Regions from separate parts of the Homo sapiens genome. Here region 2 is linked to region 1. The links are contacts of gene promoters, found by promoter capture Hi-C in blood cells and fetal thymus (Javierre and others, 2016). All regions are on one chromosome and are shown on one strand. Each heading gives the region's core, a stretch centred on a gene start or on the middle of the fragment in contact. The rest is flanking DNA. Distances are from core to core; before and after follow the strand shown. Region 1 holds the start of EMC7 (ER membrane protein complex subunit 7). Region 2 holds the start of LOC124903461 (a long non-coding RNA gene).

Region 1 (2,624 bases), core at 39-2,538:
AAAATGCAGGCACCGAAACAAAAGTAAAAATCTTTCACCAGTCATAATTTGCCTGAGATAAGGTGTATCCAAAAGAGGCCTTGTTGACCAAAACATCTCCAGCTCAGGTTTCTGCACAATACCTTGCAGTAACATTACTGCAAAAAAGACTTTGAGCTCGTCATTGTCAGTGTCTTTCCATTTATCCATTCGCGAAAATCCTTTCGGACCCGGTGGCTTTGAAGCCAACAAGGCAGCTTGGGCATTTGTTTCTCTAGTAATTTTTGAAACTAATTCCTCAGTAAAGAACAGTTCAAAATACTGCAATGGGTCAGTGATATCACTGACATCGACTTTTCTGCCAGGTGTGCCGGTAAAGTCATACCTTTGACGTGGAATCATAGCACGAGCTGACCATTTCATGGAGCGCCCTGAGTCACTTGATGTAGAGCTCTTTCCATCAGATTCTAAATGGGACAGAGGCCTGATCTTATCGGCTTCTAAAGCACTATCCGAAAAATTATCAGAATCATCTATTTCCGAAAAATCAGATTCATCAAATGAATCTTCAGCCAACAACTGTTCGAGACCGGTATTACTATCACGCATAGGAATGCTACGTTTTCTAGGATTTGACATTTCAGCGATCGAGAATTACTATATTTTGTAGATGGAAATCCCACTACTAAAAACAGAATGCTATAAACAGAATGATGTCTTTTGTTTCAAAAGTCAATATACCAGAACCATGCGAAAATAACAGAAGCGAGATATTTCGTGGCAAACTTTGGGAGTAAGGTTGGCACTGTAATCCACGAGTTATCTCGGCGTAAACGCTGCAGTCGCAGGCACAGCAGCGCGTAATCTCGGGGCTAAGGAGAAATGAGTTAAACGCACACAGACAGAAGAAGCCTTTCATCTCATACGTCTTGGGGAGTCTCTAGAAGTTTTTTGAAAGGTCTCTTCTGGATGGTGTTTCTCCCGAAGCCAGTCTCGTCATCTTTTACTCCCGTGAGGTCCTTGGCCTCCGTGGCTGCCGCAGCAACACACACTTGACTTTCACTTCATGGGCAGTCCCCTTCATAGGCACTTGACACAGGCTCTGTGCGCCGTCTTCCAATCCAGAGTGCCGGGAGTTAAGGGCAGTACTTCCGCCTTACTTCCGCCTCGCTAGTCGATCGGCCATGATCTCTTCCCTCTGGTTGGATCCCACAGCTTATGACAGAAACGGGCGCGCAGTGATGACAACATCAAGCCGCCAGCGGCGGCGGTGGCGGCCGGGAGACTGGGAGGGCTTCCGGGGCTGCCGGTCTGAGTGCAGAGCTGCTGTCATGGCGGCCGCTCTGTGGGGCTTCTTTCCCGTCCTGCTGCTGCTGCTGCTATCGGGGGATGTCCAGAGCTCGGAGGTGCCCGGGGCTGCTGCTGAGGGATCGGGAGGGAGTGGGGTCGGCATAGGAGATCGCTTCAAGATTGAGGGGCGTGCAGTTGTTCCAGGGGTGAAGCCTCAGGACTGGATCTCGGCGGCCCGAGTGCTGGTAGACGGAGAAGAGCACGTCGGTTTCCTTAAGTGAGCATCCTGAGGGCAGCGGGAAAAAGGCTGGGATGGAGGCCGGACAGGGACCCCACCAGGAGAGTTAAGTGTCAGGACGGGACAACGTCGCTGTCTCAGACTGAAGGGGAGGGTGCCGCTAACGGTCTATGCCGGGAGACCTTGGGAGGCAGTCGGATGCTTTCCCTTTCCTGGTCCTGTACCTCTGGAATGAGCATGGCAGGCGCTCACCCCCTGCCATGGTCAGAGCATGGAGTCAGTTATTTCCAACCTTATTTTGGCCCCATGTGGGGACGATCATTCCTGGGCCCTGGGGACAGGTGGACCCTTATTAGTCTCTTGTTGGATTCTTTTATATCTCATCTGGTTTCCCTAGAACCTAGTCGTTTTTTGCATTCACTTCAGTCTTTTGGTAGCTTGTTATTATGTAGAAAGATGCGACACAAGTGGGAATTCTCAAAACCCAAAGGGCTTCTAGTGACGACATAGACTGGGAGGCTAATGTTACTGCTTCTAAAATTAATAGGCTCTGAAATCCCTAATCAAAGCACTTTTTTTTTCTTTTTTTTTTTGCTTGGGGGTGGGATCGTTGTTCTTTTTTACAGTTGAATTCATCGAGAGATTTGCTATATCACACTTGTCATTTATGTGAGACTAGGGTTCCTCTACATTGCTTTCTTGCTTCTGTCCTTTCATGCTATTAGTGGAAGTGGGTTTTCTGTCTATATTAAAAGACAGGATGAATTTGTTAGCACTAGTTTTGCAGCAGCCTGCTTTTGAAATGTCTAGGCACGCGTATGTTGTTTTAAATCTTTCCACCCTTACTTGGAGGTGAAACTGTAAACTGAAAGCAAATAATTAGGAAGTATTTCCTTTGGTGGGTTCGTACACCAGCAAATGGTATCTGAAAATCAGACAACTTAAATGTAGACATTTAAATCCAAATCTGATTTACATATTTGTTCAGATCATCTAAGTGCCCTTGAGTGGTTATTCAACCTCAGATTAATAAATAGTGACAAATTTACAACCAGTATTTTACTGCTGTCTGTCATTAAGAATCTGGCATTAGGGCATTCGTTAGAGTTTACCCTAA
Region 2 (2,624 bases), core at 1-2,500, 140 kb before region 1:
TACAGGTTTTTGGCCACAGCAAAGCCAATGGGGAACCTACCTGGGCTTTACTTCTAACTGCTGCCATTGCAGAGCTTGGAATACTCATTGCCTCCCTGGATCTTGTGGCCCCAATTCTTTCCATGTAAGAGCCAGTGATTCTCTTCAGTTATTCTTGCTTAAATGATAAATAATGCATGTTTATTTCCATCAGTCATATAACAGTAGTGATAACAGAGTGGGCTAAATACAGATGTAACTTCACTTAAATAAAAATCATTCCTGAGAACTTCCAAGTAAGGCTAACTTTTGTAAGTTATTAGGTTTTTTCCTACCTATTTAACTTCAAAAGTTCTTTGGCTTCATTTCTAATTCATTGTCAATTGGTTGTAGCTTTTACCACCACTGTTAGTTTTTATTTATTTATTCACCTATGACTTATTGATGCTTACTACTTACCTGGCACTGTGTAATGTGGTATTCTGGGAATACAAAGATGGATAAGACACAATCTTATGGAACTGATAATGGATAAGGAAACCAATGATTCCCATATAGCGTGATGAGTGCCATGATAAAGGTGAACACTGAGTGCCCTAGGAACACCAGAGCAAGGCATCTAAACAGATGGAAACTCAAGAAAGATTTTCCGGAGGAAGTGATACTTGTATCTTGAAGAATAACTGGTTATTTGCTAAGAAAATAAGGGGTGAAGAACATTCCAGGCAGAGAATGCATATAAAGGAATTGAGGGATGGCATAAGGTAGCACATCCAGAGAACTGGAAGTAGTTTGGCTTGGCTAGAGTGGAGGGTACATGTTGAGGGAATAACAGAATAGAGAAGTAGGTAGACCCAGATCACAAAGGTCCTGGAACTTTTACCTGGAAGTAGTGGGTAATCCTTGAGCACAAAATGATAATGCTTTAGGATGATCAATCTTGTATAAAAGATGGATTAGAAGGAGGCTAGAATTGAGCTGGGAATGCTAATTGGAAAGAAGAAATGAGAGCCTGAACTAAGGTGATTAGTAGTAGAGATGAAAAGGAAGAGAAGCAGCTTAAGAGATTTTTAAATAGAATCCATAGGACTTGGTAAGTGAATTTGGAACAAGGGTAAGGAAGAGGAAACCTGGATTATCCTAAGAACAACTGGGTAAAGAGTGGTTGTGTCATTGACTGAGAGAACAGAGAAGGATGAACAGTTTTGTGGGGAGAGGTTTAAGTTTCCCTACTTCCTACTTAATCAAGGGTTAGTTGTCTAGAAACAGGCTTCAATACAGCAAAGGTATTCAGTTACTTAACCTTCAAAGAATCATCTTCCAGTAATAATCATTCCTCTTACTCTTTATTCTTCAGGTTTTTTCTCATGTGTTACCTCTTTGTAAACTTGGCATGTGCCTTGCAAACATTACTTCGAACACCCAACTGGAGACCCCGATTCCGCTACTACCATTGGTAAGTCTGCTTCTTTTATTCTTTTTACTCACGTTTGGAGAGAACCCATCTTTGAACTAGAAAACTAGGAGAGTCTGGGTTCTCGATAAAATTTTTTTCTTGGTCAGCCATTTCATACTGTTTCAACTTTCAATTCTTATCTGAATCCTCATCCTCCTATCCTATTTTCCTATATCACTTTATAATAACTTATAACACCCAATACGAATAGAGCAAAAGCACTAAATAGAGATATCCAGCCTTCTATAATTTTCAGGTTAAAACAACCTTCTCTTGCATGTTTATTTTCCTGTTTGTCTCTTAGGGTTACAGAGTCAGAGGTTCTAAATTCCAATCTCAGCTCTACTATTTCCTAGCTTTGTAACCTTCAGCAAAGCACATAACCATGTAAAATTTAATTTTATTCATTTGTAAAATGGGACTAATAAATCTAAAGTGCTTATCGTAGTGCCTGATACATAGTAAAGCTCAGCTCTCAATGAACTGTTGCTGCTGCTGCTGTTGTAGTTAAGTCTCCCCAGTCCTGAAGGGGTCATCATGAAAGATTTTTGGCTACCATCCCATCTCTTTCCTCTTATAGCTCAGAGCTCATTAATTATGTCCTGTATGTACCCGTTGCTACATTCTTCTTTGCTAACTTTCTCCTTGTTCCCTTTCTGTCTTCACTTACCAATGGTGGGCAGTGATGTAACGTTTACTGGGCAAAAATTAAAATCTTCAACTGATTTTTAATGCCTCAAATCCTCTTTCTAGCTTTAATGTTAGTTAGAAGTTCTTTATGAGGCCGGGCGTGGTGGCTCATGCCTGTAATCCCAGCACTTTGGGAGGCCAAGGCAGGCGGATCACCTAGGTCAGGAGTTTGAGACCAGCCTGACCAACATGGGGAAACCCCGTCTCTACTAAAAATACAAAAGTAGCCGGGCATGGTGGCACATGCCTGTAATCCCAGCTACTCAGGAGGCTGAGGTAGGAGAATCGCTTGAACCCGGGAGTCGGAGGTTGCAGTGAGCTGAGATCCCAGGTTCACACCATTCTCCTGCCTCAGCCTCCCGAGTAGCTGGGACTACAGGCGCCCGTCACCACACCCGGCTAATTTTTTGTATTTTTAGTAAAGACAGGGTTTCACCGTGTTAGCCAGGATGGTCTCAGTCTTCTGACCTTGTGATCCATCCGCCTCAGCCTCCCAAAG

What was found. Contacts are between HindIII fragments. The CHiCAGO score rates a contact against its expected background, and 5 or more counts as called.
Region 2: a fragment that was not itself captured here is called in contact with the fragment with the promoter of EMC7 in region 1 in 7 of 17 cell types (total B cells, monocytes, naive CD4 T cells and 4 more); the score reaches 7.5 in total B cells.

What each region holds. Positions count from the first base shown.
Region 1 is chr15:34,100,526-34,103,149 of GRCh38, reverse strand. EMC7 (ER membrane protein complex subunit 7) reads left to right here and starts at 1,288. Exons shown (of 5, transcript NM_020154.3): 1 at 1,288-1,546. The coding sequence starts at 1,311. PGBD4 (piggyBac transposable element derived 4) reads right to left here and starts at 1,067. Exons shown (of 1, transcript NM_152595.5): 1 at 1-1,067. The coding sequence starts at 618. RefSeq lists enhancers at 858-947, 978-1,677, 1,287-2,144. The HindIII fragment of the contact is 6,792 bases long and covers 1-2,624 here.
Region 2 is chr15:34,242,785-34,245,408 of GRCh38, reverse strand. It overlaps SLC12A6 (solute carrier family 12 member 6), which reads left to right. Exons shown (of 26, transcript NM_001365088.1): 15 at 6-124; 16 at 1,337-1,435. It overlaps LOC124903461 (a long non-coding RNA gene), which reads right to left and starts at 2,283. Exons shown (of 2, transcript XR_007064576.1): 1 at 1,468-2,283; 2 at 1-157. The HindIII fragment of the contact is 4,431 bases long and covers 1-2,624 here.